Regions from separate parts of the Homo sapiens genome. Here all the other regions are linked to region 1. The links are contacts of gene promoters, found by promoter capture Hi-C in human tissues and cell types (Jung and others, 2019). All regions are on one chromosome and are shown on one strand. The core of a region is centred on a gene start or on the middle of the fragment in contact, and the rest is flanking DNA. Distances in the headings are between cores, read along the strand shown. Region 1 holds the start of LDLRAD4 (low density lipoprotein receptor class A domain containing 4). Region 2 overlaps LDLRAD4 (low density lipoprotein receptor class A domain containing 4). Region 3 has its middle 48 kb from the start of LDLRAD4. Region 4 overlaps LDLRAD4 (low density lipoprotein receptor class A domain containing 4).

The links. The method cuts DNA at HindIII sites, captures the fragments that hold promoters and counts their contacts. A contact is called where the count stands out against the background at its distance.
Region 2: a fragment that was not itself captured here is called in contact with the fragment with the promoter of LDLRAD4 in region 1 in 2 of the 25 tissues and cell types used here (aorta and dorsolateral prefrontal cortex).
Region 3: a fragment that was not itself captured here is called in contact with the fragment with the promoter of LDLRAD4 in region 1 in 1 of the 25 tissues and cell types used here (mesendoderm cells).
Region 4: a fragment that was not itself captured here is called in contact with the fragment with the promoter of LDLRAD4 in region 1 in 6 of the 25 tissues and cell types used here (H1 embryonic stem cells, adrenal gland, lymphoblastoid cells and 3 more).

The regions. Positions count from the first base shown.
Region 1 is chr18:13,217,510-13,222,994 of GRCh38, forward strand. LDLRAD4 (low density lipoprotein receptor class A domain containing 4) reads left to right here and starts at 1,251. Exons shown (of 7, transcript NM_001378100.1): 1 at 1,251-1,479. RefSeq lists a silencer at 42-411. The HindIII fragment of the contact is 3,935 bases long and covers 1-1,814 here.
Region 2 is chr18:13,273,230-13,278,714 of GRCh38, forward strand. LDLRAD4 (low density lipoprotein receptor class A domain containing 4) reads left to right here. Exons shown (of 7, transcript NM_001378100.1): 2 at 4,876-4,959. Among named protein-coding and RNA genes, the nearest start is that of C18orf15, 36 kb to the left of the region's middle. The HindIII fragment of the contact is 8,231 bases long and covers 1-5,485 here.
Region 3 is chr18:13,168,514-13,173,998 of GRCh38, forward strand. No RefSeq gene overlaps it. Among named protein-coding and RNA genes, the nearest start is that of LDLRAD4, 48 kb to the right of the region's middle. The HindIII fragment of the contact is 8,052 bases long and covers 1-5,485 here.
Region 4 is chr18:13,253,324-13,258,808 of GRCh38, forward strand. The region is part of intron 1 of LDLRAD4 (low density lipoprotein receptor class A domain containing 4); the gene reads left to right. Among named protein-coding and RNA genes, the nearest start is that of C18orf15, 17 kb to the left of the region's middle. The HindIII fragment of the contact is 7,509 bases long and covers 1-5,485 here.

The DNA.
Region 1 (5,485 bases), core at 1-2,500:
CCACGGCGGCCCCGGTACCCGCGGCCTGGCCGCGCGCCGGGTCCCCACCGCGGAGTGGGAAGGAGGAGGAGAGACTGGAGGAGTTGGAGACAGACACAGCCGCGGCGCGCAGTCACGGCTGGAGACAGACGGCGGCGACGGCGGCGGGAGGCGGGACACTCCCCCCTCCGGCGACTGGAGGCGGGACACCTCCCCGGCGGCCGCAGCGCCGCGTCCCCTCTCTCCCCGCGCTGAGGCTGCGGACCGGGCCCGGCGGGATTAGCAGGCGAGTGCGTTGGCCCTGCCCGCTCCGCGCGCCGCCGCGGCCGGCCGGGGATCCCCTGCAAGCCACTGAGCCGCTGCCGCCGCTGCAGCCAGACAGGCTGCGGGTGCCTGGGAAAGTGGAAGCAGGGCGGGGAGCGCGGGGGAGGCCCGGGGGTGAGGTCCTCAGCTCTTAAAGAACCCCGGCGCGCCGCGCTCCCCGCCGGCCCGCCGCGCGCCCCCTGCCGCGCCCCGCACAGCGCCCCTCCCCCTGGCCAGCAGGGCCGGTGGCCGCGGAGCCGCACTGCGGGCAGTCCCCGCCTCCGCTCCGGGGGGGCGGCCCAGGTGAGTGCGGACCCGAGGTGGCCGCAGTGGTCGGGGCTTCTGGCCCAAGTTCACCGCTGCGCTCCGGAGGGAGGGGTGGCGGGGGACTCGGGAACCGGACGCTTTGGGAACTGGACGTCCGCGAGCCTGCGCCGTCGGCTGGGGCCGGAGGGAGAAGCTGGGCGCCGAGCGCGCGAGGTCTGTGAGGCTTGGTCCGGGTGGGCTTGCCGGTGGGCACGGCGGGGATCCGGGGCTGGCCCGCGGGCGGGGTTACGCCGGTGGAGGGACTTCGCCGACCCCCACCCCGTTTTCTGTTTCCTGGTGCCCTGGGGCGCAGGGTGTCCCGCGGTTGCAAGACTGAATTCTGCACCGCCCGGAGGCCAGGATGGGCGCGCGGATGGCAGCCCCAACTGTCTCCGCGCCCCTAGGCCTCGGCGAGCCGTGGCGGGCAGGGACTGGAGGTCAGCGGGAAGCGGGAAGATCCTGCAGGACCTGACCGGGGAGTTTGCGGGAAGGAGGGGGCGGGCCAAGCCCCGCAGCCCCTCAGTCCCGCATCCTGCACCGCGCGCTCCCCGGCCCCGGCCCCTCGGGCCCGCTTCACCCGGCGTCCCCCCGGGTCCCCCCGCGCGCGTTGACGTCGGTCGCGGGACCGCCCGGAGCTCCCGGCATTGGCTGGGAAGTCGATTGTCTGGGGCTGCTGCTGTTGCACTTAGGCTGGGTCTCCGAGCCCCGGAGGAAGCAGGCGTGTGTTGAATTTCTCTCTGCCCCTCACCTTGGAATAAACAGGAAGCGACAAGCACCCAGCCCGGCCCGGCACTTGCCTTTGTGAAGGGGTCTGCCCTGCACAGCCTTTAGGAAGCTTCCTCGGGACCCCTTCCCGGTGCGCCGCCCCGGGTGGGCCTGGGGGCGCGCCCTGTGAGTACACCGGTGGAAGACAGTGGGTTCGGTTTAGGTTAAATCGCTATCGTGGCGGAGAGGGCATTTGCTTGTTTAAACTTTTTTTTTTTTTTTTTTAATTGGAAAAGGAGAAGGTTTCCCGATGAGGCAGAGGTTTTCAGGACGACAGGGACGCATGGTGGGTGGGCGGCACTGGGGGAAGGCGCATCCGAGAGTACAGCGTTCTTGGGTCACCTACCTGGAGGGACACCTCGTCGCCAGTCAGGGCAGCTAGAAGCTCTTTAAAGCAAGCAGGACTCCTTAGCTCTGCCCAGGCACAGGAATGGTTGCTGTGTGCCCATAGCCGCATGAACTAGCATGATTTTTGTTTTTCCCCCAAAATTTTTTAATTAGCTAGAATTAGATAATTTTGATTTGCTTCTTTTCTTTTCCTCTGTGTCTTGGTCTATTCCCTTCTCTTTTTCTCTTTTCTAATTATTTTGGCATCTTCTCATCCCCGGACCAGCGCTGCTTTCTAAATGTTAATTACCATTGCAATACATATTTATTGAGGGCCTACTATGTGTTAGGCATTGTAGGATGTGAGGTAAGAGTAGCTGCACAGAATGTGGGTTCTGAGCGCTAGTATTAGTAAGTTATTTGCAGTAGAGGTGGATAGAGATGGTGAGCAGCATTGACTCTCAAAAATAGGGTCCTATGGCTGGTAAGGAGGTTGGTGCCTTCTCGAAGGGCTAGTGCTGGGAAGCTTCCTTTTAAAAACGGCCCTTTCTGCCGGTTTGGCTAGCCAAGAATGGCATCCTCCTCTCTGTATCTTCCCTGGAGCTTCAGGACTGAGTATTGAATGACAGAGAAGGTTCTGCAAAGTCTGCACAGGGAGACTGCCATTGCATCAAGTCATGTCTGCATTCTGTATATGGTATTGTCTTTTCTAGTCTTTAACTCGAGTGTGTTGTCATCTGTAACTCTCCCTTTGTACTCTGCACAATTCTTCTGGAATATAGTCTTTGTGTTCAGTCAAGGATCAGAGTGTCAAATCTGAGTCATTACATAGACAAATGAGGATGTCTGAGTATTACCCATGTATATTTATTGAATTATATTTGGTTTCCCATCAACCCTTGAAATGTTATTTGATGGACCTTTCTAAGCAGTGCTTTTTAAAACAGGGGGCTAACTTCCTTATGATCTTTGAAAGCTTAATTCTTTTTAAGAGCTTCATTTTGCTATTGACATTGAACACAGTGTTAGGAATTAGGGCTGGGAATGTAAATGCCAGTAAGGGATTTGCTGTAATGGAATTGTAGCTACCTTCCTCCCTTGTTTTAAATGACCTCTCTAATTTCTTAACATTCTGCTGTTACCCTTGGAAGGGCTTGCCATTGTTGGCCATGGTCCTGGTTCGTGTAGGTTTGTATTTACATTGGAGAAGACTCTTCCCGGCAGGTTTTTAGGGCTGTCTCTTGAATCCTCTCATGGGCTTGGTTTGCAAGACCACAATCCTGCAGTGGAACGCAGCCAGTGCCAGCTGCTTATTAAGGGATTTTGTGCCAATTTGTTGGCACATTATTTGAGACTCCTGCACCCCACCCTACTCCCACTGGAGTATATACATACATAGACAAATATTTATTTTCCCCCAACTGCTGACAGTGTTCTAAGAATAGTTTTCTTGCCTGGCACGCGGAGAGCAAGGGCCCGTCTGCAGAGGTGTTTACAGTTTGGGACTGTGCTGTAGTCTTGGTTGACTTAGCAGCCTGGCAGACCAGCCTCATAGCTCCTGGGACGCTCTCTGTTTTTGCTCTGGGCTGCTGCAGGGGTAACCTCCCTGACTGATAGGGAAGCACAGTCAGAGGAGAGTGACTTTTGCTCCTTGTGCATGGTTTCTGGCAGGCAGTCCAGCAGAGATCCCTGAGCTCCTGACGTCTCTGCATGTAGCCAGCATAAAGTCTCCTTGTGGTGGGTGGGAGGTGACTGCTCTACGTCATCACGTAAAACCAAAGCCACCTCAGGGCCCTGGGCAGGAATTCTTGAAATTGTAGACTGCTCTGATCTTTCTGGTAGTCCTTGCCATGTTTCTTCTCATCTTTCTTTGGAATCTGGGCTTATCCAGTCTCTATGATGTGTCCTTCTTCCTGTGTAAGAGTTAGTAGAGAAGGAAAAATGTTATCCCTCAAGAAGTGATAAAACATTGTAAAAGAAGAGCGCACCATATTAACCTGGAAAAATTTTTGGAAATAGTTAACAGAATGTATAGCGGCACATGGATATTAAATATGAATAGCGGCAAAATTGCTATGTAGTCCAAAATTATTCTTTTCTTTCTTCCTTCCTCTCTGTCTCCTTCCCTCTCTCCCTCTGTTCCTTCCTTTTTTTAGGTCTCAGAAAAAAATCTCCTGGAAGCCATTATTTTCTGATGTCAAAGAGACTTTCTGCCTATATGAACTGTGTTAGTTTAGAATTACATCTTGACCTATATTACGGGTGTACATGGAAGATGAGTCTTAAGTTTCAAAATAGGAATGCAAAGGTTCTGTCTACTATTTGAAAATTTAGGCCACAAGACCTGCCACTTTTTAGGGACATTTTTTGGGGGGCATTGTTTGCTTCATTGTTAGGCAGAGAAAGGACTGAAGCTAGTACCTGTACTATTAATTATGCTGAAAATATTGGGTTTGAATTTTCAGTTAATGTCATTTTTTTCCATCACAGGAGGAATTGAAAATGATGTCTGTATTGTCACATATCCATGTGATTTAAGAATGGATTGCTTTTCTTTTGAGTTCTCACTAAAAATGGTACTTTGGCCTTTTAAGCTGTTTTTGTGAAGACTTTTCTTTCCACCAAGCTTGTTTTCCAGATAGGTCTTGGAGATTACAAAGAACATAGATATAATTTCTCCCTTGATTGGCAGCTGCGAGCTTTCCCGGACAAAAATAATGCTGCACTGTGCCAAATGGTTGACTTTTCTAGAATAAAAACTCTAAAGGGTATGCAAAAAGTCCTCTGGTTAATATATTGGCATTCCCAGAACCCACTAACACTCCGGCAGCCTGCCAGACTCCACTTAACGAGGACACAGAATGTCTGGCTCAATCCCCATGAGCAGACGGGGGTGGGGTCTGGATGTCCACACCCTTTATTAATTTTTAATGACTGTACTTTTGTTTTGCAGATTTTCCTCTGTACCCCCTTCTCAACCGTCTCCTACAACGTCACTCCCCCCATCCATTTATTTACTCATTTACTTGGCATCGGAAAAATGTCGAGCTGTTCAGGGTTAAGGATCCTGCTGAGGGATCATTTCTGTTTGCATGGGTTCTTTTGTTGTTGGTTTTTTTTTCTTTTTCTTCCTTTTTTTTTTGGAAGAGGAAGAGAGAAAAGGAACAGAAAAGATGACAACTATTTTTTTTTAAGGATGCTTTATTGTCTGCTGGAAAAAGAGAAGCATTTACGAAACTTTAAGTTTGTCAGACAGTTTATGTGACAGTGCAAGTTGGTGCTTGCCAAGCTCCAGACAGATTGTTAATGTTACATGACAGGGATAAATAAATTACCGCTGTCTGCAACACGCTTGCACTGCAAACGCACTCTGCAGCCGGCGGCCGGCTGGGCGCCGCTCATGGGCCTGGTGTGCATGCAGCTGCGCAGAGGGCCTCTGCCTGCCGCCTAGAATTCTGTGCCTCGGTTCGGAAATGAAAAGGGTGTGCCTTGCTTTTATTTTTGGCTCTACTGCAGGGCAGTAGAATCCAAGGAGCAACTCTGTGTCCTTTATTTTGCTAGGCTGCTCCGCCTCCTCCCCTGCCCTGGCCCCACCTCTGGTCCACACTCCCGTTCTTCCTCTGAGCAGGGAAATCAGGCACCTAGCTTCTTCCCAGGAGACCTCAACTTTGTTCTTAGCTGCCCAGGGCCTAAAGTATCTCAAAGCCAAGTTTCAAGCTGTTTACAGTTGTGTTCTTTCTGCAGGTGCAGACACTGAGAACAAATTGTCTACGATAGATAAGGCTGTACTGGCCTGGGAGGGCCT
Region 2 (5,485 bases), core at 1,864-4,363, 58 kb after region 1:
CTCCGTGTGTTTTCTGTCCCATTATGATTTTCCTGAGATGGCTCTTCACTCTGTCTCTGGGCCTCCTTGTGTTTAATTTATTTGTTTTTGAGACAGGGTCTCACTTTGTTGCCCAGGCTGGAGTGCAGTGGTGTGATCATAGCTCACTGCAGCCTCAAACTCCTGGGCTCAAGAGATCCTCCCGCCTCAGCTTCCTGAGCAGATAGGACTATAGGTGCGCACCACCACATCCGGCTAATATTTTCTTTTTTATAGAGACAGGATCTTGCTATATTGCTCAGGCTTGTCTTGAACTTAAGCTATCCTCCCACCTTGGCCTCTCAAAGTGCTGGAATTCCAGGTGTGAGCTGCCGGACCCAGCCCCTTGTGTTTTAAATGGCTCTGCTTCCCAGGACCCAGCCACCAGCTGGAGTGAGTCCTGCTCCCCAGAAAGGCCAGAAGCCTGCGGCCAGGCTTCTCTTCAACTTTTGCCCAAACAAATTTCCCATCTTCCTTTACCTTAGAGAGTGAGAACACCGTAAAGATGAAGAATAAGCGCGCCTGCTTCCCTTCAGGGTTTTCCATCCTCCAGCCCCTCATGCAGTCCTGTCCTGGTGCAAGGGAGGTGGTGCCTGTCCCTTTTCAGGAGTTCCACCCACTCTGCCTCTTCTTGCTCTGCTTCTTAGGGGCCCATGGCTCACAGCTGTGTCTGGGACGTGTCATTCAGGAGGTGGTTTAGGGTTAGTGAGATCGGCAGCCCCACAGGACCCTGCTGTTGGAAACCCACGTGTGGATGCCCCGATGCCTGGTGCCATAGGGTATGGCGTGTGAGGAGCTCAGCCAGTGCCTTCTCTTCTCTCCTCAGCGAGCGGCTGTGCTTGCTGGCTCTCCTCGGTGGCTTCCTCTTGAATGAACCTTTCTTCTGAAGGCTTGATTTCCTTCCGGGAGGCTTAGTGTTTCTGCTCAGCCTTCTTTCTTGGAGGCCTGGGCTTGATGTTGAGTTGTGTTTGGTGAGGTTATGGAAAAAGCCTGTGTTTACTAAAACAGAGGGAGGAGGCCTGGATGGGGCATCAGGTCTGTCTTTGTGCTGTAACCTGGAGCCGTTGATCTCTTGGCTGGACCTGGGGAGGGGTCGGCCAGTGACCCCTCCAGTTCCCTGCTGGCCCCTACACAGGGGATGCTAAGCAGCAGGTCAGTGTCTATTTTCACAGCTAGAGAGTTAAAGTTATGCTGAAAGGAAGAGGTGAATTTGTTGCAGTTCTCTGCCTCGTGTCATGGAACTGCTGTTTTTAGTTTTTCTTGGCTTGGGTGTGAGAATCCTGCTGCCTGCGAGGCTAAGCATGAGGGAGAAAGCGTGGAGACGATGATCACGTTTGCTGAGTGATTGATGAAGAAGTGGGAATATATCATACAGTCCTGAATGTAGATTTCAGGGGAGTGTGACAGGTTTCTGTAATGAATAAAGTTTTTCTTTTGTACTCTTTTAAGTAATTGTATTGATTTAAATATTTTCAAATATCACTGTTATTAAAAGTAGTCCCTTTGGAATGTAAAATAGACACAATGTTGGGTAGCAGGAACTGTGTATGTGTTGAATTATTATTTTCAACAGAGCTTAAAGTCTTGATTAAAATAGTTAAAAATCATCAGTTTAAAAATGGAGTATCTTAAAGAGCTGGGCATGGTGGTGTGCACATGTAGTCCTAGCTACTGGGGAGGCTGAGGCAGGAGGATCATTTGAGTCCAGGAGTTTGAGGCTGCAGTGAGCTATGATTGTGCCTGTGAGCAGCCTCTGCACTGTAGTCTGGATACCATAGCAAGACCCTGTTTCAAAAAAAAAAAAAAATCCAGAAGAAATTTTGAAACAGGTTGCCAGGAAATTGGATTGGCATTTTGTTTTAGAATTAGAGCCTGGTCTTTTGACCCATACAGGTTTTGTCACTTTAGTTGGGAAGGAAAGATTTATTGATACTAATGGAAAATTAAAAATGAGTCACAAATTCTTACTTTGGAAATTCTCTTAGGGAGCTTTTTTGTTTTTAACCTTGAACTGTAGATAAGTAGATGCCAGAGAAGTGGCAAGGATATTTGACAAAAGTAATAACTACTGAGTGACATTTTAAGCACTGACTCAGGTTCACTGGTAAAATGAAATCAGTGCTGGAGAAGTTGTGTGTTCATTCTTTTGGGGTAGAACATGAAGCCAAATATCTTCAACCTATTTTGAAATTCAGAGCTATGGGCTCTACTCTGAAGGCTTGAATAAGTTCGGTTGCTGTGGCCTTTTTGTGACTAGACATTGGCAAATCATAGTTCTATTACTTTGGCTCACTTAAAAAAATGTTAATAGCACAACAAGCTGACTGTAGTCAATAATAACTTAATTATATATTTTAAAATTGAAGAGTGTAATTGATTGTTTGTAACTCAAAGGATAAATGCTTAACAGGATGGATACCCCATTCTGCATGATTTACTTATTTCATATTATATGCCTGTATCAAAACATCTCATGTACCCTGTAAATACATATACCTACTATGTGCACACAAAAATTAAGAATAAAAAAAATGTTAAAGGCCTCCCATGTGCCACATACTCTGCAAAGTGTTAGGGATGCCAGGATGACGGGGATGTGGTTTTTGCCCACAAGGAGCTAAAAGTTGAGTAGGAGAATGAATTTCCACTTTTGGTAGATGAGGCAGGGCAGAGGCCTGCTCTAATGTACAGATGTGTATGCGTTTAGTATATGCATATATGCTTTATATTATGTAACCCATATTTAATTACTAAGTTATTTTATTTATTTATTTATTTTGAGATAGGGTCTTATTCTGTCGCCCATGCTGGAGTGCAGTGGGTCGATCTTGGCTCACTGCAACCTCAGCCTCTTGGGTTCAAGTGGTTCTCATGCCTCAGCCTCCCGAGTAGCTGGAACTACAGGTGTGCACCACCACGCTCAGCTAATTTTTGTATTTCTTGGTAAAGATGGGGTTTCACTGTGTTGGCCAGGCTGGTCTTGAATTCCTGGCATCCTGATCCACCCGCCTCGGCCTCACAAAGTACAGGAATTACAGACATGAGCCACCGTACCTGGCCTAATTACTAAGTTACATTTATCAGTTTTCTGTTGCTGTGTAACAAATTATTATAAACTTAGGAGCTGAAAACAGTACTCATTTGTTATCTCACAGTTTCCAAGGCTCCACAGTCAGGCATGGCTTAGTTGGTTCTCTGGTCAGGCTGTAGTCAAGGTGTTGGCCAGGCTGTGTTCCCATCTGCAGGTTTGAGTATGGAAGAATCCACCTCCAGGCTCATTCATGTTGCTGGCAGAATTCATTGACTTGTAACTGCAGGACTGATGTCCCTGTTCCCTTGCTGCTTGTCAGCTAGGGGCTGCTCTCAGGTCCTGGGGAGCCCTTGTAGTGCTTTGCCAAGTGGCCCCTCACAGGCCCCATCATGAGGTGGCAGCTCGCTTCTCCAAGCCAGCAAGGGAGTCTGTCACTCCCTCGTTGCGGACTCCTATGTAGGTCGCCTGGTGTGGGGAGAAGCATTCTTTGTGGTATTCGGTTGGGTAGAAGCCAATCACAGCTTCCACCTACACTCAAGGGGAGGGAGTTGTACAGGGTGTAAGCAATTTGGGGAGTCACCTTAGAATTCTGCCCACCACAGTACCTTTCTGGTTATTTCATGGACTTCCGTTCCCAAGAAATCTGAGCGTTTGCGTCCTAGGAAGACTGGTGAGAGCAGCCCCAGTGGAGGAATAAAAACTAAGATCTGGAAAATCAGCAGTGGGTTGTTTTCATCTCTCAGCAGGCAGGAAACAGGAGGAGAAAGGAATGTCTGTAGGCTCCCAACACTGATGGGAAGGAGGTGTTTGGCTGGGGTAGAGCTCCGCAGGAATCTCCCAGGCTCCTCTAGCTAGGTGCAGCCGTGTTTTATCCGGCTGTCTTTACATGGGCTGATCACTCAGGAGTGGCATATGGCAGGAGCACGCTTTGGGGTACGAGCCTCCTGGAGAATGAACTGCAGCACACAAGCCAGACAGATGGTGGCTTAGTCCCCCTTGGACAAGAGTGTGTCCTGCACACTGGAGGGCGGGGTGCTGAGAGGCGCTTGTGGTGTCTGAGGCCGAGCTTTGCTGAGTTCACCTGAAACTGCTTTGGAGCTCGAGGCGGTCACCCGAGGATACCCGGCGCTCCACCTGGGACGGTGCGATGCCCACAGAGCATGCTCACTCAGTTGGGATGGGGATGCCAGTGACAGGTTGTATGGAATGGACAAAATCTGAAGCACCAGCTGGGAGGACACTCTCCTAACAGGATGGTGGGCAGGTAAAGGCAGCCTTGCAGGCAGAGTCACGAACGTTACCATCCCAGCAGTGTCACTGCTAGAGGGCTTGCCTCTTCCATGAAATCAGACATGTATTTCAGCAGAGGAATCACTGGGGCCTGCCCGTCTTAGGTGGGCCCATGTTGTCTTGAGACTGGATTGTCGTGAAAGAAGATGGTCTTTTCACAGCTTTTAGAGTGTGTATGAATTTTAAGAAGACCAGTCCAACAGGGATACTATCTGTTATTTGGCCTCTCATCAAAGAGGAGGCCCGTGCCTCTGCAGGAACAAGCGTGTGTCCTTTAACAGATGAGGACTCGGTGCCCCTGTGACTGAGTGGAGGCAGAGGGGGATTTTGTCCCAGTTTGGTAATTCTGTGCTGTAATTCTTCTCTCTTCCTTCCCTTTATTACTTGATGCCTATTATTGCATTTTTATTGTATTCATTTTGATATTTATGCCTCTTCTCGTGACAGCCCTCAAATATTTAACTGTTTTTGAAACTTGAGAGGGGGACACACAAAAAGAAACATGGCTCACAGAAGTTCTTCATCTTTCTTTCTAGCGGTTCAAGCTCTACGTTCGTGACATCAAACCTCCTGTTGGGCCATTTCCGAGAACTCCCATCAGTTTCTGTATAGTGTAAAAGGTAAGTGGAATTACTTGTGACTGTTCTTTGTGATGATGTCTGGGAAGCAGAGCTTGTCGCGGCAGGAGCTGCTCTGCAGTGGTGGACCTGTCTGGCTGCGTTTGTTTTGACAAGGGTGTGCCTCATTTGTGTGTTTCTTCTTTGGGGCTGGATGTTAATGGCTGGGGCTTGGGTATCTATTCACAGTAGAAGCTTGGGTGACACCTGTGTGTTTTCAGAGCCAGCCCTGGTGGGGGACAGTCAGTGGCAGAGCTGGGAGATGCCCAGAGCCCCCTACCTGGCATGCCAGCTTCAGCCTCTGGCCTCAGGATGCCCTGCTCCGCTCGAGACGCCATGTTTTCTCAGTTCATCTGTGATTTTAGTGATGCTTATTCTGTCTCATTGTCAGGCTTCACTTGATGTCAAAGAACATGAAGTGAAGAAATACATGAGAATTTTCAGGAAGGTAAGACATTCTATAAAATATAAGGTCCATTTTTTTCCCTATATTTTTAATGTGCCTGGTGGTGGGACTCATTGCTTATGG
Region 3 (5,485 bases), core at 836-3,335, 48 kb before region 1:
TAATCCCAGCACTTAGGGAGGCCGAGGCAGGTGGATCACGAGGTCAGTAGTTTAAGACCAGCCTGGCCAAAATGGTGAAACCCTGTCTCTACTAAAAATACAAAAAAATTAGCTGGGCATGGTGGTGGGCACCTGTAATCCCAGTTACTGGGGAGGCTGAGGCAGATAATTGCTTGAACCTGGGAGGCAGAGGTTGCAGTGAGTCGAGATCTCACCACTGATCTCCAGCCTGGGCGACAGAGCAGACTCTGTCTCAAACAAACAAACAAACAAACAAACAAAAACACCAACCAAACAAAAAAACCTCTGGGATATGGCAAAGGCAGAATAAGAGGAAAGTTCATAGCCTTAAAAAATGCCAACATCAGAAAGTCTGAAAGAGCACAGACAATCGAAGGTCACACCTCAAGGAAGTAGAGAAACAAGAACAAACCAAACCCAAACCCAGCACAAGAAAAGGAATAACACAGATCAGAGCAGAACTACATGAAATTGAAACACAAAAACAACACAAAAGATAAATGAAACAAAAAGCTGAAAAGTTCTTTGGAAAATAAAATTGATAGACTAAATTAGTGAGATTAACCAAGAAAAGAAAAGATCCAAATAAGCTCAATTAGAAACTAAATGGGAGATATTACAACCAATACCACAGAAATGCAAAAGATTATTCAAGGCTACTATGAACACCTTTATGTGCATAAACTAGAAAACCTAGAGGACATAGATACATTTCTGGAAATATACATCCCTCCTAGATTAAACCAGGAAGAAATAGGAACTCTGAACAAACCAAGAACAAGCAGCTAGATTGAAATGGTAATGAAAAAATTGTCAACAACAAAGAAAAGCCCTGGATCAGACGGATTCACAACTGAATTCTATCAGACATTCAAAGAAAAATTGATACCAATCCTATTGACACTATTCCAAAATACAAAGAAAGAGGGAATCCTCCCTACATCATTCTATGAAGCCAGTAATACCCTAATGCCAACACCAGGAAAGGACATAACAAAAAAATAAAACTACAGGCCAATATCCCTGATGAATATAGATGCAAAAATCCTTAACAAAATACTAGCTAACTGAATCCAACAGCATGTAAAAAAGATACTCCACTATGATCAAGTGGGTTCACACCAGGGATGCAGGGATGGTTTAGGTTTAACACATGCAAGTAAATAAATGTGATACACCACATAAACAGAATAAAAACAAAAATCACATGAGCATCTCAATAGATGCAGAAAAAGCACTGGACAAAACCCAGCATCCCTTTATGATTAAATCCCTCAGCAAAATAGGCATAGAAGAGACATACCTGAATGTAATAAAAGCCATCAATGACAAACCCACAGCCAACATAATACTAAATGGGGAAAAGTTGAAAGCATCTCCCCCGAGAATAGAACAAGACAAGGATGCCCACCCTCACTACTTCTATTCAACATAGTGCTGGAAGTCCTAGCCAGAGCAGTCAGACAAGAGAAAGAAATAAAGGCATCCAAATTGGTAAAGAAGAAGTCAAACTGTCACTGTTTGCTGATGATATGATCATATACCTAGAAAACCCTAAAGACTCCCCCCAAAAGCTCCTAGAACTGATGGAATTCAGCAAAGTTTCAGAATACAAAATTAATGCACCCAAGTCAGTAGCTCTGCTATACACCAACAGCAACCAAGCTGAGCATTAAATCAACAATTCAATCCCTTTTACAATAGCTGCAAAAAATAAAAATAAAAAATAAAATACTTAGGAATATACCTAACTAAGGAGGTGAAAGACTTCTAGAAGGAAAACTACAAAACACTGCTGAAAGAAATCATAGATGACACAAACAAATGGAAACACATCCCATGCTCATAGATGGGTGGAACCAATATTGTGAAAATGATCATACTGCCAAAAGCAATCTACAAATTCAATGCAGTTTCCATCAAAATACTACCATCATTCTTCACAGAACTAGAAAAAGCAATCCTAAAATTCATATGGAACCAAAAAAGAGCTTGCATAGCCAAAGCAAGACTAAGCAAAAAGAACAAATCTGGAGGTATCACATTATCTGCTTCAAACTATCCTACAAGGCCATAGTCACCAAAATAGCATGGTACTGGTATAAAAATAGGCAAATAGACCAATGGAACAGAATAGAGAACCCAGAAATAAACCCAAATACCTGCAGCCAACTGATCTTTGACAAAGAAAACAAAAACATGGAGTGGGGAAAGAACACCCTATTTAACAAATCGTGCTAGGATAATTGGCAAGCCACATGTGGAAGAATGAACCTGGATCCTCACCTTTTGCATTATACAAAAATCAACTCAAGATGGATCAAGATTTAAATCTAAGACCTGAAACCATAAAAATTATAGATGATAACCTTGGAAAAACCCTTCTAGACATTAGCTTAGGCAAAGACTTCATGACCAAGAACCCAAAAGCAAATGCAACAAAAACAAAGACAAATAGATGGGACTTAATTAAACTAAAAAGCTTCTGCATAGCAAAAGAAACAATCAGCAGAGTAAACAGACAACCCACAGAGTGGGAGAAAATCTTCACAATCTATGCATCTGACAAAGGACTAATATCCAGAATCTACAAGGAGCTCAAACAAGTTAGCAAGAAAAGTATCAACAGTCCCATCAAAAAGTGAGCTAAGGACATGAATAGACAATTCTCAAAAGAAGATACACAAATGGCCAACAAACATATGAAAACATGCTCAGCATCACTAATTATCAGGGAAATGCAAATCAAAACTACAATGCTACTTTGGGGGGCCAAGGCGGGAGGATCACTTGAGGTCAGTAGTTCAAAACCAGCCTGGCCAACGTCGTGAAACCCTGTCTTCACTAAAAATACAAAAATTAGCTGGGCATGGTGGTGGGCGCCTGTAATGCCAGCTACTCGGGAGGCTGAGGCACGAAAAATGCTTAAACCTGGGAAGTGGAGGCTGCAGTGAGCTGAGATCGTGCCACGGCACTCCAGCCAGGGTGTCGGATTGAGACTCTGTCTCAAACAAACAAACAAAAAGAACACAACCAGAATGCGATACTGCCTTACTCCTGCAAGAATGGCCATAATACAAAAGAAATAATAAAAAAAAAGATGTTGGTGGGGATGCGGTGAAAAGGGAACACTTTTACATGGTTGGTGGGAATGTAGACTAGTACAGCCACTGTGGAAAACAGTGTGGAGATTCCTTAAAGAACTGAAACCATCTGATCCAGCAATCCCACTACTGGGTATCTACCCAGAGGAACGGAAGTCATTATAAGAAAAAGATACTTGCACACACATGTTTATAGCAGCACAATTTGCAATTGCAAAAATATGGTACCAGCCCAGATGCCCATCAATCAACGAGTGGATAAAGACATTGTGTTATATATACACCACGGAATACTACTTAGCCATAAAAATTAATGAAATAATGGCATCTGCAGCAACCTGGATGGAACTGGAGAGCATTATTCTAAGTGAAGTAACTCAGGAATGGAAAAACCCAACACCGTATGTTCTTATAGGTGGGAACTAAGCTATGAGGAAACAAAGGCATTAGAAGGATACAATGGACACGGGAGAATCGGGATGGGGGGGAGGGGGTGAGGGATAAAAGACTATAAATCGGGTGCCATGTACACTGCTTGGGTGATGGTGCACCAAATCTCAGAAATCACCACTAAAGAACTTACTCATGTAACCAAAACCACCTGTTTCCCAAAAACCTAGGGAAATACAAAATAAAAATACAAATAAATTTATAAAACAAATAAATATTACTAATAATGATACTTGGATATTTTATTTAGGAAGCTAATGGGATTTATTTATTTATTTATTTATTTTGAGACAGGGTTTCTCTCGTTGCTTAGGCTGGAGTGCGGTGGTGCAATCTCAGCTCACTGCAACCTCCGCCTCCTGGGTTATAGCAATTCTCCTGCCTCAGACTCCCGAGTAGCTGGGATTGCAGGTATACACCACCACGCCCAGCTAATTTTCATATTTTTTTGTAGAGATGGGGTTTCACCACGTTGGCCAGGCTGGTCTCGAACTCCTGACCTCAAGCAATCCACCAGCCTCAACCTCCCAAAGTGCTGGGATTATAGGCACGAGCCACAGTGCCTGGCTGCTAATAGGGATTTGAAAACCGGAAATATACATGTTTAAATGTCTTGGTAAATATATCTAGATCATAATGGTATGTGTGAAATTGTGTATAGCTTTGAAAATAAAACAAAAAAAGACAGAGAAAAGAACTGGGGAATTTAAACCTAAAAACACAAACAAATTTACATCTTATCAAAAATAAAATGTATGCCTGCATTATATGCAGCATAGAAAAAAATGAAGGAAAAGGCGTATTTGCTGTCTTTAAATCAAATTTATCAAACTGGTCTGATTTGTTTCATCACTTTGATTATATGAACTTAGTTTCTTATAGAAAAAAATGCTATGAGGGATAGTAATTTTGAGGAGAAATATTTTTTCTTGGAAAGCTAACACATTTAAAATATTAGAAGGCCAGGTATGGTGGCTCATACCTGTAATCCCAGCTCTTTAGGAGACTGAGGTGGGAGCATCACTTGAGGCCAGGAGCTCAAGACCAGACTGGGCAACATAGCAAGATCCCATGTCTAAAAAAAAATAAAAATAAAAAATAAAATATTAGAAGTTCAGTTTCTATATTTTCTGGGGATTTTGAGGATATTAAATTCATATAAGCACTTATCAGCCATTCAGGACAAAGTTCCTTTATTGTAAGAAACTTTGTAATCTAATTTATTAATACATTGTTGATATAAGAAAAGATTTCAGACACGAGGAGAGGTAAAGGCTTTTCTCGGTTGGAGGCTCACAGACCCACTGAGTGCATGTAGCTTCTGCCATGCATCCTCAGCCACAGGCCACAGCCAACCCAGAAGCACCACTCATGGGTCCAGATCCTAAAACCTGTTCTCTTTTCCAGGGGGCGCAGCACATCCTTCTGATGGAGTTGAGCTCACAGGAGGGCAGGAAGGAAAGAATAAGCCAGATTTTCTGTCCTCTCTTAGTGGAGAATGGACCCCTCCTGCCCCAATAGGGACACATCCTGCCAGGGCAGACCTGCAAACCTGGCTGTCAGTCATTGCTGAGAGGACTTGCACATTGGATAGGGCCAAACCAGAACCAGAACCGAAGCAGGCCCCAAACCAGGAAGGAACACAGCAACACATGGTCAGGAATAAAGCAGCATGGGGAGTCAGTGCGGGAAAGGGCTTGTGCCATGTGGGGCCCGCCGTGGGCCGAGACTGAGTGTGTCTGCAGCAGGTTCAGCAGCCTCGAGGCTCGTTGGCAGGTGGAGTTCTGTGGCTTTGCTGGGTGAGTTGCAGAGGCATCTTGGCGGGACCCCCAAAACCTTCAAACGAATTTGCAAAAAGATGAAAACATAACTTTCTACAAATATAGAGTGAACACGTGTCCTAGATTTAG
Region 4 (5,485 bases), core at 927-3,426, 37 kb after region 1:
CTCAGCATGAATGTGCTCAGGCTGTTGACTGAAGGGTGTTGCTCACTCTTTTTTAAGAAGCATGATATACATCTAGGAAGAGTAATATTTTAAAAGTCTTTTTCCCTTTTCCACACCTCCGCTTGAAGGAACTCCAAAGCCTGCAGGGTAAATGAGCAGTGTTAGGATGGCCAAGAGCTCTCAGGCTGATTTAGTACTTGTGGGCAGGGCCCCTTTTCGGATTGATTATGACACATGGTGCTAATGGGGTTGATTTCTAGTGGGAGGTACAGTATGTGTTACCCTTCGAGTTCTGCAAATGAAGTGGGGGGAGGAAGGAATGCATTCAAAGAAAAGAGAGTGGAATTCGGAATAATTTTTTTTGATATTCTCTTAAAGGCACAATGATCAGAACCTGCCATGTTTTATTTCTTTTCATTAGAATTAAGCTTAGGTTCTGGGTATCGGAGCATCTCTGGCACAGGTTGTATTCACCCTTTGGCCCTCAGATGTCACTGAACAGGAAGCTGCCGGGTGAGTTTTTGATAACAAATCTCATGGCAGGATGGTGGCGCCTCCCTCGCCTGCTCACCTGCCCTCCAGGCTGGTACTCACTGAGTGCCCAGTGTGTGCCCAGCCCTAGAGCCGAGGCCGCAGAAGGCCCTGTGCTTGGGGGCTTGCTGCGATACGGGGCATCCCAGGAATCCAGGACTCAGATGAGTCAATGCAGACCTGCTGCTGGGAGATAGTGCTGGAGGGGAGGAGAGTGCTGGCAGAGAAGCATAAGCCCCGGCGAGATTCCACTGAGGGGAAGCCCAGGGATTTCTGGAGGCAGGTGATGGAGCTGAGGGCTGAACACGGACGGGCGGTGTCGCGCCGTGAAGGCAGAAGAGCCTGTCTGGGTGGAGGGCACAGCCCGAGGCCCAGGGGAGGCAGGGAGCTTTTCGGGTCCAGAGCTGATGGGGTGAGGAGTGAGGGGCCCCAGGTGGACTCAGGGTTTTCTTTTCTGAGGCTGAGTGGGATCTTATAGGCCTTGGGGAGCCATTGGAGTGTTTTCAGCAGCAGTGACAGGGTCTGTTTGCACTGGGCCACGGTCTGGAGACTGGGCAGTTTGGGGGTTGGAGGAGTTTCCCTGGCCCAGCTGAGCAGGGCTGGCGCGGACAGAGAGAATCCCGCCTCTTCAAGGTCGCTCAGCTGACCATGGGCATAGCTGGACCTAGAGTGCCAGCGACCCTCCATGCTTCTGCCAGGAAGTCCAGCGGCATCTTTCCATTCATGGTGGTTACGGAATTGGCCGAGTCCTTACTCTGACCTACAGTGAGCCTCAAGAAACAAAAATGTCCACCTGTGTTCAACAAATTAAACATGTAAAAGAACATACTGGGCGTGGTGGCCCACACCTGTCATCCCAGAGCTTTGGGAGGCTGAGGCAGGAGGATCATTTGAGCCCAAGAGTTTGAGACTAGACTGGGAAACGTAGGGAAACTGTTGTCTTTACAAAAGCCCCCAAAATTAGCTGGGCGTAGTGGCACTTGCCTGTGGTCCCAGCAACTTAGGAGCGTGAGGCATGAGAATCGCTTGAGCCCAGGAGGCAGAGGTGGCAGTGAGCTGAGATGGTTCCACTACACCCCAGCCTGGGCAACAGAACGGGACCCTGTCTCAAAAAAAGTTAAATAAAAGAAAAACCCAATTCTTCTTGTTTAATAGGGCAGCAAGACTAAAACAGTAATCATCAGATGAAATGATAGTAGAAAATATGAAATATGAACAAATGATTGAACCCGTGAGGGCTCGAGACTAAGGGGCAGAGACACAGCCAGGGTGTCTGGGTTCAGCAGATACTTCCAGAGCCCTGCTGTGTGCTGGGCACAGGGGCTGCAGACAGATGCCCGCCCCCCCCAGCCCCGGGATGCTCCACACCCAGCAGGTGCTGTTGGATACACAGTGGGAGCTCCTCCTGGCCTAGGGTCTGTGCTGGGAGAGGCAGAGGCAGACAATGGAAAGGCTCCACTCTCAACAAAGAGTGGGGTTTGATGTACTGGGGTCCGAGAAGGTAGCATTAGAGCAGGGAGTGACCATATGGGTACTGGGGAAGATTCTAGGCTGAGGCAACTCTGTGCAAAGGCTGTGGGTGAGCGGTTGCCTGGAGTGGTCAAGGCCACATGGCTGGAGAGGAGCAGGGGGTGCAGAGGGCACATGTGCATGCATGTGCACATACAGGCATGTGTGAACATATGTGTGGGTATGTGTGATTTCCCATAGGGCCCAGGGTCCAGGTGGGATGGGAGCCCTTCCAGGTTTGGAGCAGAGCAGTGTCTGGGTGTAGGTTTCCAGAGGGTCAGGGTCTCTGGGGAATAGATCACGGTGGAGGCCCAAGGGAGAGGCAGGGTGCCATAGGGGCTGTTGCAGCGTTGAGGCCCTAGGGACGGCTCCCCAGGCCAGGGCTGTGGGGTGCTTGGAGTGGAGGAGGAACCAGAGGATGCACTGAGGTGGAGAGCTGGCCGAGGGAGATGTGGTGCGTCTGAATTTCTGCTGAGCACTGGAATTCCATTTTATCAGGATGAGGATGGCTGGGGAAGGGATGGCTTTGATCATTGCTTTTATTGTGAGGAGACAATTTGTCATCAGCATTGGTGTTATTTTGGCCTGACTTTTATCACTCTTGTTCATCATGATCTTGTTTCTGCCTAACTTTCGTGCTTGCTACCCTCTTAGAAAATGATGTATCACTTATTTAGGATATTATGTGTTAATTGTTGTCCAGAAATCAAACTAAGTTTCTTTCCAAGAAAGACGTGATGTAAAGCACTTTGATTCCCTGGGAGAACAGGTGCTGTGTGTGCACAAGGTTTTGCTGCCTGATTATTCTAGGGAAAATGAGACAGTGATTATATATGTTGGCAGGACTCAGATCACAAACTGCCCTGGATGTAGGGGGAGGCTTGGGTGAATCTAAAAGCATCCTCCTGCCATTTGAGGTGAGTCCTCTCCATGTTGGGAGTAGAAATGGCTCTTCTTTTAAAATAGGGTCCCTTTCTTGGCTCTGTCTCTGAGTCACCCTCCTGGGGTCACAGATCAGCTGCATGGGCACAGGTTAGGAATGTGGTCTCAGCCTCAGCCTTGGACCCCATCCCCCCATCAAAATCTGCCTTTTAACAAGATCCAAGGGGATTCTTGTGCACCTTAAAGTTTGGGAAATACTGAGTTAGGACAGTTTTAAAACATTCTGAGGACTTCTTGCTTCGAGATCAGTATTGTATTAGGGCAGCTGGGTTTAAATCCCAGGAATGCCAGCAGGTGTGTAGGACTGGTGTGAACAGTGCTGAGTACTTGGGTCAGGTTACAGATCGACCCCACTAGCATCCAGCAATCTGGCACCCCATGGATGTTTCCATAGAGAGCCCTTTGAAAACGAGAGCCCTGGTAAGCTGGTGTGTGTGCTGGCATGGAAGAGAGAGCCTCTCTTTCCTAAGGAAGGCGTCAAAAGCAGGGGTTAGGTGAATGGAGGGAGCCCAGGCACGTCAGTGCCCAGTGTGGCAGGTGTGTGTGCCGGGGAAGGAAACCTGTGTTGTTGGAACGAAGTTGCCATTTGGCGGAATTTGGTGCACTTACTTGGAAAATATTGCCCAAAGAACTCAGAACTGTCTGTTTTCTTTTCCTTAAACATTTCTCTTGTCAGAGTGATGAGAAAATTGCCTATGTGGGAACTTGAGAAGTGCAAATTTGTTAATACTTCCTTTGACAATGGTTTGTATTCAGAGCTGTTTATGAGCTGTCACAAATCATTTCCAGTTAAAACGTTTCTGCCATGGAGTCATGCCGCGCTGGAGGGTCCGGCGGGACAGACGTGCACAGCCTCGCGGCCCTGGCTCAGAAAGGCCTGAACCCATGTGCCGTGGGTCTGGTTTTTAAGCTGGTGAATTGAATCGTGGAGAATAAAAATGACCTGGTTTCTGTGGAAACCTCTGCTTTGAAAATGTTCTTCCTTTTAATGATCTTCAGAAGCCCAGTGTCAAGGCCTGAGTGTGAGATTTCGCCATTCTTTTGATGGCTGGGACAGAGCAGAATTCAGTGCCAGTCCTTTCGTTCTGTAATGATGATGTTTGTGAGACTTGGGGATGACACTTTTGGCTCATCCCTGGTAGGACGTGGACATGCGGTTGCTTTTCCATGAGCAGGGATGGGTTTCCCTGACCCACTGCCCTGCCCCATCCATGCTGTGCTCATGGGCAGGCGTGTGTGGGGTGGCAGCCTGGGCTTCAGAGTCCGGCCTGCAGCCTGGATGTGAGACACTGAGTGATCATATAGGGGATGATTTTATAGGTCTGGATGCTTTATAGCAGTGGCTCTCACCTGGGGGTGACTTTGTTCCCCAGAGGCCATTTGACAATGTCTGGAGACATTTTTGGTTGTCACAAGTGGGAGGTGGGAGGTGCTCCTAGCATCTAGTGGGGAGAGACCAGGGATGCTGTTAGACTGCCCACAGTCCACGGGACAGCCTCATCACAAGGGTTTGTCCAACCCAATGTGTCTGTCGTGCCCAGGTTGAGAAACCTGCTTTAACAGTAGTGGTAGTTTGGATAGATGGATAATGGTAAAGATGAGAAAAGGATACAATGGGGCTGGGTGCAGTGGCTTAGGCCTGTAATGCCAGGCTGAGGCAGAAGGATCGCTTGAGCCGAGGAATTGGAGGCTGTGATCATACCACTGCACTTCAGCCTGGGCAACAGAGCAAAACCCTATCTTAAAAGAAAGAAAGAAAGAAAAAAGCATACAATGGCCAGATAGTGGTTGAAAACATGTTAGATCTCCAATATCTGGTTCCATTTCTTTTTGTTTTTCATTTATTTACTTAGTATTCAGAAAAGAAATTTCACTGTCCAAAATCCATTTTTTCCCAACCAAGACAGTTGAAAATTCCTAAATTCTAAATAATCAGACACCTTCAGTAGGTACGCTTACTTTTCTTCCATGCTTCCGTAGTATTTTGCTTAACAGAGAATGTTAGGGTTTTCTTTTTGAAGCTCCTAGTTTGTCTTAATGAGTTAATTCTACGAAATCCTTTTTTTTTTTCTTTTGTTAGCATTAACATGGAATCTGCTAATGAATGGCCACTAGGGACGATGGTGAAAACACTTGAAATGAGATGCCTCTATTTGAATATTTTATGGTCATGGAATTGGCTATTTATTTTATTTTTGCTTTTATGATTTCAAAATTCAGATTTCTTTGAGCAAATGTTTAGAGATGACAAGAGGGAAACTCAGGGATGGAATAATCTATTGAGTGTGAACCAAAGATTACATTCTTTTTCAGAATTGTCCTTCCTTCCTTTTTACTGGGTCCCATAAAAGGTTTTATGATCTGATTGTACCTTATTGATATTTGCCAATTGATAAATTTCTTGTTCATTAATTCAGTATTTAGGTCAATGATGTTTCTTCCTGGCTTAGTATGAAGTTTAGCCTTTCATGATACATATTTCCTCTTTCTTTAGCTAGATTAC